Regions from separate parts of the Homo sapiens genome. Here region 2 is linked to region 1. The links are contacts of gene promoters, found by promoter capture Hi-C in blood cells and fetal thymus (Javierre and others, 2016). All regions are on one chromosome and are shown on one strand. Each heading gives the region's core, a stretch centred on a gene start or on the middle of the fragment in contact. The rest is flanking DNA. Distances are from core to core; before and after follow the strand shown.

Region 1 (6,141 bases), core at 312-2,811:
ATTTAACATTCTGAAATAATTTTACATTTAATTTGTGTAAACTCTGTAGGTAGTCTTCTTGAACTGTAAGTTCCGTGAGGGCAGGGATCTCTAGTGCAGCCCTTTACACTGAAAGTCCAGTTAGTAATATTTCTGCTGTTTCTGGTAAGTCAATATAAACAATGTTTTTAAATTATTTACTTACCAGCTAAAAGACGCATAAAATAGTTGAATTTCTATTTTAAAGTGTGATTTCTTTTTCAGTTAAAAAATGTACACTAAAGTTCAGTAAAGCTGGCAGATTCAGCAGCATGCTGAAGGACAGTTACTAACTGGCAGAAAAGTTACAGCAGCCCTTTTAAGAAGGATTTAAAATACTGATCATTAATACGTAAAAATGCAAAAGTTTAGAAACAAAGAATGACACTGGAGATAGTACAATAAATATTCATGCAATTAAGCTGTTTTCCAAGGAGCGGTCCCCACAAAATATGGGGGAAAAAAAAAACCTTCAGAGAATGCAATATCTGAACTGATAAGGAGCTCAGCATGTTCCAAGGCACTCAGACTTAACATTATCTCACCTGTCTGTCACAGCAACTCTGTGGCGTAATTTTATGAATGGGAAAAACTCAGGATCAAGAGGTTAAGCGACTGGCCCAAGGTCACTCAAGGAATCAATGGTGCAGCTATACCTAGAAGGGTGCACTTCACCTGATCCTTCCCACTACATAAGCCAGCTCCCCGACTGAAGCATTAGGACAGCGGAAAAGCAGGGATCAGACTCTGTGAGTGTCCCGCACTACTCCTATCCTGCCAAGGAGGCGCGGGCTTGCCTTTGAAAGCCTTCCCTAGCAACTCAGCCAGAGAGGAGGAAGTTGTGCCCGAGGCAGGCCACTGATCAGCCCAGCAAAGTGACAAGGATGACAGGCGCAGCCCCCAAAGGACCAGCCGGCATTCCCAGGAGCCCTTCCAAACCCTGCGACGGCGAGACTGGTCTCAGAAACATCTGAAAAACCTCCCAGTAAGTTTCGCCCCCTCCTGGACGTGAGGAACCAGCTGGGAATGAGCCAGAGGTCGGCCAGCCACCCGAGCCAGCCATGTGTCCAACCCGTCACGCCCGCCCCGCCTCAGCCGGCTCCTCATGCCTAGACCGCAGCCAGAGGCCCAGCTCAGGATCCGAAGCAAAGGCAGCCTTGGCTGCAGCCACCACCACCACACCACACCGAGGCGCCCCGGCGTGGAAGTCGCCGTCAGATGTCCGCCCCACCCTCCTGCTGGGACCCTCAACGACGTCGTCCGCGCCTCCGGCCAGGCCCCGGGGGCTCGGCCTGCCACTTCTGCCCACCCGCCTGCCCGCCGCCACCGCTAGCCGGGCGTCCTTACTTCATTGAGCTGGCGCTCCGCGGCCTCACGCAGGGCTGGGTCCATAGTGCCCCGCAGGGCCTCGATAATGGTGTTGGGGTCCATCGCAGCGCGGACTCGGTCAAACCCGGGGCTCGGGTGCTACTGGGCCAGGAATAGCGCCACTCACTGCGCACATGGACCCGCCGCGCTCCGCAGCGGCAACCGGCGCGAAAGGAAAGAGAAGCGCCAAGGCCCCGGATAGAACCTCTTCGCCTCGGCGTGGAGGCGGGAGATGCTCCGGCGACTTCCTGTGGGCGCGCCTGCGGAGCACTTTGGGAGATGTAGTCCACAAACACAGTCCGCAGCCCACGTGGCTGCCTGAGCTGTCGTTCCTACAGACAAGTCTTTCTGTTCAAAAACGAAAAATGTTCAAGTTCCACAAAAAGAAAAGCAAAACAATCAGTTACAAAAGGTTTCACATACTATATCCACAATGTTCATAAAGGGAGTCAGATACAGTGTGTGGTGCAATCGATTGCTAATGGCTGCGTGATTGAAGGAAACTTTCTGAAAAGCAATTTGAGATGTGTTTCTGATAGCCACTAAAATATTTAAACTGCCGGGCGCGGTGGTTCACGCCTGTAATCCCAGCACTTTGGGAGGCCAAGGCGGGCGGATCACGAGATCAGGAGATCGAGAGCATCCTGGCTAACACGGCGAAACCCCGTTTCTACTAAAAATACAAAAAATTAGCCGGGCGTGGTGGCACGCGCCTGTAGTCTCAGCTACTAGGGAGGCTGAGGCAGGAGAATCGCTTGAACCCGGGAAGCGGAGGTTGCAGTGAGCCGAGATCGTGCCATTGCACTCCAGCTTGGGCAACAAGAGCGAAACTCCGTCTCAAAAAAACAAAACGAAACGAAATGTTTAAACTCTGACCCAGTAATTCCACTTATGAGACTTTATCCTAAGGCAATAACACGGAAGATTAAATGAACTTTATGTGTGAAAGGTTTTTATCACATTACGTATTAGTAATTACCAAATACTGAAATCATGGCTTTTTATTGAGTATCCAAATTTTAGTTGGGACTTCATATAAATCACCTCTTAATGCAGAGTAAAAGCATAATCCCTATTAAAATACACCTTCCTGCCAGGCGCGGTGGCTCACACCTGTAATCCCAGCACTTTGGGAGGCCAAGGTGGGCGGATCACAAGGTCAGGAGATTGAGACCATCCTAGCTAACACGGTGAAGCCCCGTCTCTACTAAAAATACAAAAAATTAGCCGGGTGTGGTGGTGGGCGCCTGTAGTCCCAGCTACACTGAGGCAGGAGAATGGCGTGAATCCAGGAGGTGGAGCTTGCAGTGAGCCGAGATCATGCCACTGCACTCCAGCCTGGGTGACAGAGCGAGACTCTATCTCAAAAATAAATAAATAAATAAATAAAAATAAAAGACACCTTCCTAGCCAGGCGTAATCCTCCTGTTGAGGCAGGAGGATTGCTTGAGACCAGAAGTTCAAGGTGACAGCCTGTTAAGATCGTGCCTATGAGTAGCCACTACGCTACAGCCTGGGCTACATAGCGAGACCCCATCTCTAAAAAAAGAGGGAGGTGGGGGAGAAAGAAAGAAAGAAAAAGTCCTCTTTTATAACAGCCAAGAAAAAGTTTGTTTTAGAAAGGTTAAATAACTTACCCAAGGTCACGTAGTAAGAGGTTCAACTAAGATTTCAAACCTAAGATCTTTGTTTTCAAACTTTCCATTGTTTCCACTAAATCACTCTGCCTCTGAAGAGAAATGTTGAACAATATAGGACTGGTTAAGCAAATAGCAAGAATCCAGTAAATTAAATATTTCACAGCCATTAAAAAATATAACAAAAAAGTATTTATGGAAGGATATAGCTTTGTAACATGGACAAAGACTGAAAAGCAAGGTTAGCAAATGAAAATAATTTATTTTCTATTAACAGGATGGTGAGATTTGGAGTAATTTCCTTTCATATCTGTTATTATTGTAACAAAGTTATATAAACAGATATACTTAAAATTAATTATAAGCCTTCAAATACAATGTGTTAAATGATCACTTATTGTTTTTAATTTACAAAAAAAAGAGAAGGAAAGGCTCACGAAAGCCTTTCCCTGAAGCGGTGGGTTTTGCAATGTTACTACCTTGTATATGCCAGCCACTGTGCCTGGAAGTACTGGAAGTAAGACAGAATTATTCCTAATTTAGGCCGGGCATGGTGGCTCACAACCGTAACCACAGCAATTTGAGAGGCTGAGGTGGGCGGGATCACCTGAGGTCAAGAGTTCGAGACCAGCCTGGCCAACATGGCAAAACCCCATCTCTACTAAAAATACAAAAATTGCCTGGCCCGGTGGCTCACGCCTGTAATCCCAGCACTTTGGGAGGCCAAGGCGGGCGGATTACGAGGTCAGGAGATCGAGATCATCCTGGCTAACACAGTGAAACCCTCTCTCTACTAAAAATACAAAAAAGACCGGGCGCGGTGGCTCACGCCTGTAATCCCAGCACTTTGGGAGGCCGAGGCGGGCGGATCACAAGGTCAGGAGATCGAAACCATCCTGACTAACATGGTGAAACCTTGTCTCTACTGAAAATACAAAAAATTAGCCGAGCGCGGTAGCGGGCGCCTGTAGTCCCAGCTGCTCGGGAGGCTGAGGCAGGAGAATGGCGCGAACCCGAGAGGCGGAGCTTGCAGTGAGCCAAGATCGCGCCACTGCACTCCAGCCTGGCGGACAGAGCCAGACTCCGTCTCAAAAAAAATAAAAAATAAAAAATAAAATAAATAAATAAATAAAAATAAAAATACAAAAAAATTAGCCGGGCGTGGTGGCCGGTGCCTGTAGTCCCAGCTACTCGGGAGGCTGAGGCAGGAGAATGGCGTAACCCGGGGAGTGGAGCTTGCAGTGAGTCGAGATCGGGCCACTGCATTCCAGCCTGGGCGACTGAGCAAGACTCTGTCTCAAAAAAAAAAAAAAAATTAGCCAGGCATGGTGGTGCTCACCTGTAATCCCAGATACTCAGGAGGCTGAGGCAGGAGAATCACCTGGACCAGGGAGGCAGAGGTTGCAGTGAGCTGAGATCGCACCAGTGCACTCCAGCCTGGGCAACAGAGCAAGACTCCGTCTCAAAAAAAAAAAATTTACAAATGAAGAACCCGAGGCTCAGGCTACTTAAATTGTGAGGAGTCAGAAAGTTTTCATAATAATAACCTGTAAAAAGTGTAATAGTGTTACAAATACAATCTGTTTAAGAATTTTCCTCTCCCTGAATTGTTTGAACCCGGAAGGCGGAGGTTGCAGTGAGCTGAGATCGTGCCATTGCACTCCAGCCTGGGCAACAAGAGTGAAACGCCGTCTCAGAAATAAAAAGAATTTTCCTCTCCCTGCTCCACTGCTCAAAGTGAAGGCCTTGAAAACAGGCTTATGTTCTATTGACCTTTGTATCCTCACCTCCTACCACAGAGTTAGAATGTAAAGGAGGAGTTTAAAAAATTCTTTAAGTGAATAAATGAAGAAAGGAATTAATAAACTAGTAATGACTTATAGGTGGCTGAGCCAGAATTGAAGCTTCATTCTTCATGATTCAAAAGCTAGTCCTCTTTCTGATATTATATGCCTATTTTAGATTCCAGAATTGACTTGTTTATCACGGAATTGTGAAGATTTTAGCAGAGCACAATGTATATGAAAGAACCTGGCACATAGAAGGTAGTCCAAAAATGTTAGTTTCCTCTCCCTAAAACTGAAAGGGAAAAGAAGTGGTAGTGAAAAATATGGTTTTAAGCTGTAGTGCTGGGAACAGGGAGCCAACGAGGCTTGCAGATCTACAGCTGGCATGGGGCCTGTGTCTCATCCTTCATAGAGAACAGAGCACACTGGGTACAAGATCCTGTCTGGGGAGCCAGCATTCCTGTATCCAAAAAAGGAGCTTGGCCCCAGGGAGCATTCAGGAGCTAGTTGGTAGAGTGATTAGCACACTCAACCTATTTGTAGATTTTAGTTTTATTTTGTCAAGCTAGTGACACAGAGAATGTGACTTACGTGACTGGAAATTTCAGTGTGAACTCCTCTAGGGCAGAGACCACATCCATCTTTTTTGTGGTAGACACAGAAATGAATGAGTGCTCAATAAATAAGTATGAGAAGACTAATGAAAAAAGTGGTTTGTTAAGCCACTGTAAACACAATTACATAACCTTATGGTGTCCCACAATCCCAATCCCCAGCACAGCAGCCAACACAGGTATCTAAGCCTCCTTAGGCAAGGTGAAGGCTGAGAATTCAGAAAAGCATAAACCATAGTCTCAGAGTTGATTTTGAGGTAGGATGAAATTAGACAAAAATTAAGAAGAGATGCGGCCGGGCACAGTGGCTCCTCATGCCTGTAATCTCAGCACTTTGGGAGGCCGAGGCTGGCAGATCACGAGGTTGGAGAGTTAGAGACCACCCTTGCCAACATGGTGAAACCCCATCTCTACTAAAAATACAAAACTCAGCTAGACATGGTGGCGTGCACCTGTAGTCCCAGCTACTCAAGAGGATGAAGCAGAAGAATTGCTTGAACCCAGGAGGTGGAGGTTGGTTGCAGTGAGCCGAGATCACACCACTGCACTCCATCCTGGCGACAGAGTGAGATCCGTCTCAAAAAAAAAAAAAAAAAAAAAAAAGAAGAAGAAGAAGAAGAAGAGCTGGGCCTGACTCAGTGGCTCACACCTTTAATCCCAGCACTTTGGGAGGCCAAGGCAGGTGGATCACCTGAGGTCAGGAGTTCAAGACCAGCC
Region 2 (6,054 bases), core at 1,689-4,188, 110 kb after region 1:
TCAGTTGAGTTGCTTCTCACTTTATTGTCTTGCCCATGGCAGCCCAGGTAGGTTGTTTTGGTGGGGGCTTTTGGCAGTTCCAACGTTTGTCAAAACCTACTACATGGGAGTGGTGTTTTTTCTAGGTGAAGTTTGTATAGGCTTACCAAAAAAAAAATCTATGTATTTTACATTTCACGGGAATTATATTACCTTTTATGGTCCACATATCTGTATTAATTACAAGATCTGGGACCAGGAGCAGTGGCTCACACCTGTAATTCCAGCGCTTTGGGAGGTCAAGGCAAGCAGATTGCTAGAGGCCCAAAGTTACAGACCAGCCTGACCAACATAGCAAAACCCCGTCTCCACTAAAAATTTAAAAATTAGGCCAGGCGTGGTGGCTCATGTGTGTAATCCCAGCACCTTGGGAGGCCAAGGTGGGTGGATCACCTGAGGTCAGGAGTTTGAGACCAGCCTGGCCAACATGGCAAAACCCTGTGTCTACTAAAAATACAAAAATTAGCTGGGTGTGGTGGCATGCACATGTAATCCCAGCTACTCGGGAGGCCGAGACAGGAGAATTGCTCAAACCCCGGAAGCAAAGGTTGTAGTGAGCGAAGATCCCGCCACTGCACTCCAGCCTGGGCGACAGAGCAAGATTCCCTCTCAAAAAAAAAAAAAAAAAAAAAAAAAAAAGGCCGGGCATGGTGGCTCACTCCTGTAATCCCAGCACTTTGGGAGGCCTAGGTGGGTGGATAACAAGGTCAGGAGTTCGAGACCAGCCTGACCAACATGGTGAAACCCCCGTCTCTACTAAAAATACAAAAATTAGCTGGTCGTGGTGGCGAGCACCTGTAATCCCAGTTATTCAGGAGGCTGAGGCAGGGTAATCGCTTGAACCCAGGAGACGGAGGTTACAGTGAACCAAGATCATGCCACTGCACTCCAGCCTGGGTGACAGAGCGAGACTCCATCTCAAAAAAAAAAAAATTAGCTGGGCGTGGTGGCGGGCGCCTGTAATCCCAGCTACCCAGTAGGCTGAGGCACAAGAGTTACTTGAAGCTGGGAGGCGGAGGTTACAGTGAGCCGAGATCATACCATTGCACTCCAGACTGGGCGACAAGAGAGAAACTGTCTAAATAAGTAAATAAATAAATTAATTAATTAAATAAATAAATGACTCTGTCTCAAAAATATAACACAGGCAAGCTTGCGTTCCTTCGCCAGCTTAATAAGGTGACCTTGCCCCCTCTGAGGCTTGAACTCAGGACCATTCAGATTTTGAGACTGATGCGCTACCTACTGCACTAAGGAGGCAGCTAAAAGATGCTTTGCTTCCTATAATATACAGTTCTATAGGTTTTGGAAAACATAATCGTGTAATCACCATGCAATCAAAATATAGAACAATTATTTTATTCCCCAAAGCTTTTAAGAGCTCAGCTCAGCTATTTAGATGGCTAAATATATCTTCCTTTTGGGATCTGGTCCAAGTGCCGTTCACTTCCCTTCATTATATCATCCAGCCTTTCCTAGGAAGCTCTTGGCTCTCAAACTGATGGGAATAAGGAGGCCACTGTGTTCACAGTGTAAGGGAGAAGGGTGGGTGCAGCACAGATAAAGTCATCCACCCATACTCTCAAAATACTCTCAACCTAGGGGGACCCAGGGAGAAGGGGGAAGAGGCTGAAGGGAGCACTGGAGTCACTCCTGGGCTTGTAGGAGAGCCAAAGGGACTCTTTTGCTTCCTTGGTCCAGCTACCCTACCCTGTCTCAGCCTCCACACACACACTCTTCTCTCTCTTTCTTTCTCTCTCACTTTCTTTCTCTCTTTCTCCCTTTCTTTCTCTCTCTCTTTCCTTTCTTTCTCCTTCCTTCCTTCCTCTCTTTCCTTCCTTTCTTTCTTTCTTTTTTTTTTTTTGACGGACTTTTGCTCTTGTCTCCCAGGCTGGAGCGTAGTGGCATGATCTTGGCTCACTGCAACCTCCGCATCCCGGGTTTGAGCGATTCTCCTGCCTCAGCCTCCCGAGTAGCTGGAACTACAGGCACATGCCACCACACCCGGCTAATTTTGGTATTTTTAGTAGAGACGGGGTTTCACCATGTTGCCCAGACTGGTCTCGAACTCCTAACCTCTGGCGATCCACCTGCCTCGGCCTCCCCAAGTGCTGGAATTACAGGCATGAGCCACCACGCATGGCCCACACACTCATATAAAGTACACACATACAATTATTTACACATGCAAACACACATACATCTAATATATGTAAGCACATAATATACATACATGATTACCACTATGCACAAATGCTTACTCACATAGAAATAAGCTCAAACAGGCTGGGTGTGGTGGCTCATGCCTGTAATCCCAGCAGTTTGGGAGGCCGAGTAGGTGGATTGCCTGAGCGAAGGAGTTCCAGACCAGCTTGGGCAACAGAGTGAGACCCTTGTCTCTAATAAAATACAAAAATTACCCGGGTGTGGTGGCACACGCCTGTAATCCTAGCTACTCTGGAGGCTGAGGTAAGAGAACCGCTTGAACCCAGGAGGCGAAGGTTGCAGTGAGCCGAGATAGCGCCACTGCAATTCAGCCTGGGCGACAAAGAGAGACTACATCTCAAAAAAAAAAAAAAAGCTCAAACAGAAATACACAAGCTCACACATCTGGGAAAGTTGCATCTTGCATCACTTGGGGAAGTCATCAGTCATTTGCTCCTCCTGTTGCTTCAACTTCATACTTCCTCACCATGGGGTATCAGAGTTATCCTGAGGCTGACTATTCTTTGTGGCTTCTTTGTTGCTGTGGGTTATGATAGATGAAGGGTAATGTCTAATTTTCAACTGATTTAGTAAGCTTGTGTTTGAGAGACATGAGGATCCTGATGCTGGTTCCGGGCAAGGTGTTGGAGGCTAGTGGGACACAGGGTATGGGGAAGTGAGGCATATGTGACTTCTTTTGTAAAGATGTGTCAGAGGTAGCTGAGTGCATCACTACTTCCCTAGATGTATTGGTGTTTCTAGTCTTAAGAAAGCCCATATTTGTGAAGCTTACGTTTTTCTACACTATACGTGGAATTTTTTCGATTGTACATGGTGAACTCCCATTGAGTGTTGGAGAGAAAGCGTTTGAGCACCCACGAGTTCATCAGCTGATGTGTTCTTGAATGCTATACTGAGCTGGAAAGTAGATAGGTTATGCCTGGGTGGAGTTGAGCTGACCCATGCTAGCATAGGTATAGGCTATCTCTAGAAGAATTCACAAGGCATTGCTTACATTCACAGTAAAAGGTATTTCTTAGTTGTTTTTGTTTTTTGTTTTCAGGTGGAGTCTTGCTCTGTCGCCCAGGCTGGAGTGCAATGGCTCAATCTCAGCTCACTGCAACCTCAGCCTCCTGGGTTCAAGCAATTCTCGTGCCTCAGCCTCCCGAGTAGCTGGGACTACAGGCACACGCCACCATACCCTGCTAATTTTTGTATTTTTAGTAGAGACGGAGTTTCACCTTGTTGGTCAGGCTGGTCTCGAACTCCTGACCTCAGGTGATCCGCCCACCTCAGCCACCCAAAGTGCTGGAATTACAGGCATGAGCCACCGCACCTGGACTATTACATATTTTTTAATAGTGTGATGGTTAATTTTATGTGTCAACATGACTGGGCTAATGGATGCCCAGGTAGCTAGTAAAACATTATTTCTGGGTGTGTCTGTAAAGCATTTCCAGAAGAGGTTAGCATCTGAATTGGTAGACCGAGATCACCCTCACCAATGTGGGTGGGCATCATCTAGTCCACTGAGGTCCTGAATTCATCAAAAAGGCAGAGGAAGGGAGAATTTGTTCTCTCTCTCTTCTTTTTTTTTTTTTTTTTTTTTTTTTTTTTTTTTTTTGAGACAGAGTCTCAGTCATCCAGGCTGGAGTGCAGTGGTGCGATCTGGGCTCACTGCAACCTCCACCTCCCAGGTTCAAGCAATTCTCATGCCTCAACCTCCCAAGTAGCTGGAATTACGGGTGCATGCCACCACTCCTGGCTAATTTTTGTATTTTTAGTAGAGATGGGGTTTCACCATGTTGGCCATGCTGGTCTGGAAATCCTGACTTCAAGTGATCCACCCCCCTCAGCCTCCCAAAGTGCTGGGATTACAGGCATGAGCCACCATGCCTGGCCTGCTCTCTCTTGAGCTGGGACATTCTTCATCTCCTGCCCTTGGATATCTGATTCTTGGGCCTCCAGACTCAGATTGAATTACACCACTGGCTTTCCTGAACCTCCAGCTTACAGATAGCAGATCGTGGAACTTCTTTCTCAGTCTTCGTAATCATATGAGCCAGTTTCTCAAAATAAATCTCTTTCTCTATATCTATATATATCCTGTTGGTTCTGTTTCTCTGGAGAACCCTGATTAATGCAAATAGGTAATACATTCTTGTGGTTCAAACCTCAAAAAGTATGAAACAATGTACAGTGAAACATTTCCATTCTATTCCTGATCCCAGCCATTCAGTTTCCTTCCCTAGAAGCAATCAATTTTTTTTTCAGATTTTTATTTTATTTTATTTTTTATTTTGAGACAGAGTCTTGCTGTCACCCAGGCTGGAGTGCAATGGTGCAATCTCGGCTCACTGCAACCTCCGCCTCCTGGGTTCAAGCGATTCTCCTGCCTCAGCTTCCTGAGTAGCTGGAATTACAGGTGCCCGCCACCATGCCTGGCTACTTTTTGTATTTTTAGTAGAGACGTGGTTTCACCATGTCGGCCAGGCTGGTCTCAAGTGATCTGCCCTCCTTGGCCTCCCAAAATGCTGGGATTACAGGCGTGAGCCACCACACCTGAAGCAATCAATTTTAACAATGTTTTGTTTATGCTTCCAAAAATAGACTATGCATATACAAAAAAAAATTCTTTTATTTTCTCTTTTTTATACATTTGATAACATATTACACAGTTTTTCCTTATTTTTTTCTTGCTCTTGTTTTGTTTTATAGCTGCATAGTATTCCAGCGTTGGCAGAAACTATAGTTTCTTTAATCTGTCTTCTATAGCTAGGCATTTGGATTGTTTTCAGTTTTTTTGTTTTGTTTTGTTTTGTTTTTCCTGCAAGACGGAGTCTTGCTCTGTCTCCCAGGCTGGAGTGCAGTGGCACGATCACTGCAACCTCTGCCACCCAGTTTTAAGCGATTTTCCTGCCTCAGCCTCCTGAGAAGCTGGTATTACAGGCGCGAGCCACCAGGCCCAGCTAATTTTTGTATTTTTAGTAGAGACGGGGTTTCACCATGTTGGCCAGGCTGGTCTCAAACTCCTGACATGGTGATCTGCCCGCCTCGGCCTCCCAAAGTGCTGGGATTACAGGTGTGAGCCACCACGCCCAGCTCTGTTTTCAGTTTTTGCTGTTACAAACAGTAATTATAACAGTTTTTGCTGTTACAAACAGCAAATTATGTATATTTGCAATTATATATACTTGATCCAAGATATATGTCAATACCTCATTCAGGTTTTCAAAACGGGGTTTGGCTCTGTGAGTGGATCTGTGTGGACCTTTCCTAAGGATTCATTCCCTCCACTCTTACTTAGACTGATCTGTTGTGATCATATTCTCCCTTCTCTCTAGTTTGGTGTTGCTTTTGCAAGGTATAGACTTGCAAGATATAGCCCTGCTGTTCGTGCATTCCTTCAAGGCAAGAAGCAAGACTGGAGGGAGTAATAAAAAGGCAAGTAATCTCCTGTCTCTTCAAATTGATGGTTTCAAAACACTTGTTGAGGCAGGGTTCAGTGGCTCACACCTGTAATCCCAGCACTTTAGGAGGCTGAGGTGGGAGGATCCCTTGAGCCTAGGGGTTCCAGACCAGCCTGGGCAACATGGTGAAAACCCATCTTAATTAAAAAAAAATTATAATTAAATGGCCGGGTGCGGTGGCTCACGTCTGTAATCCCAGCATTTTGGGAGGCCGAGGCAGGCGGATCAGGAAGTCAGGAGATCGAGACCATCCTGGCTAACGAAGTGAAACCCCGTCTCTACTAAAAATACAAAACAAAATTAGCCGGGCGTGGTGGCGGGCGCCTGTAGTCCTAGCTAC

The links. The method cuts DNA at HindIII sites, captures the fragments that hold promoters and counts their contacts. A CHiCAGO score of 5 or more calls a contact.
Region 2: a contact is called between a fragment that was not itself captured here and the fragment with the promoter of IPO7 in region 1, in 2 of 17 cell types (activated CD4 T cells and M2 macrophages). The highest score is 5.5, in activated CD4 T cells.

What each region holds. Positions count from the first base shown.
Region 1 is chr11:9,380,072-9,386,212 of GRCh38, reverse strand. It overlaps IPO7 (importin 7), which reads right to left and starts at 1,561. Exons shown (of 25, transcript NM_006391.3): 1 at 1,366-1,561. The coding sequence starts at 1,449. RefSeq lists an enhancer at 1,044-1,559. The HindIII fragment of the contact is 13,114 bases long and covers 1-4,929 here.
Region 2 is chr11:9,270,488-9,276,541 of GRCh38, reverse strand. It overlaps TRL-CAA5-1 (tRNA-Leu (CAA) 5-1), which reads right to left and starts at 1,299; the gene lies at 1,226-1,299. RefSeq lists a silencer at 2,633-2,833. The HindIII fragment of the contact is 193 bases long and covers 2,842-3,034 here.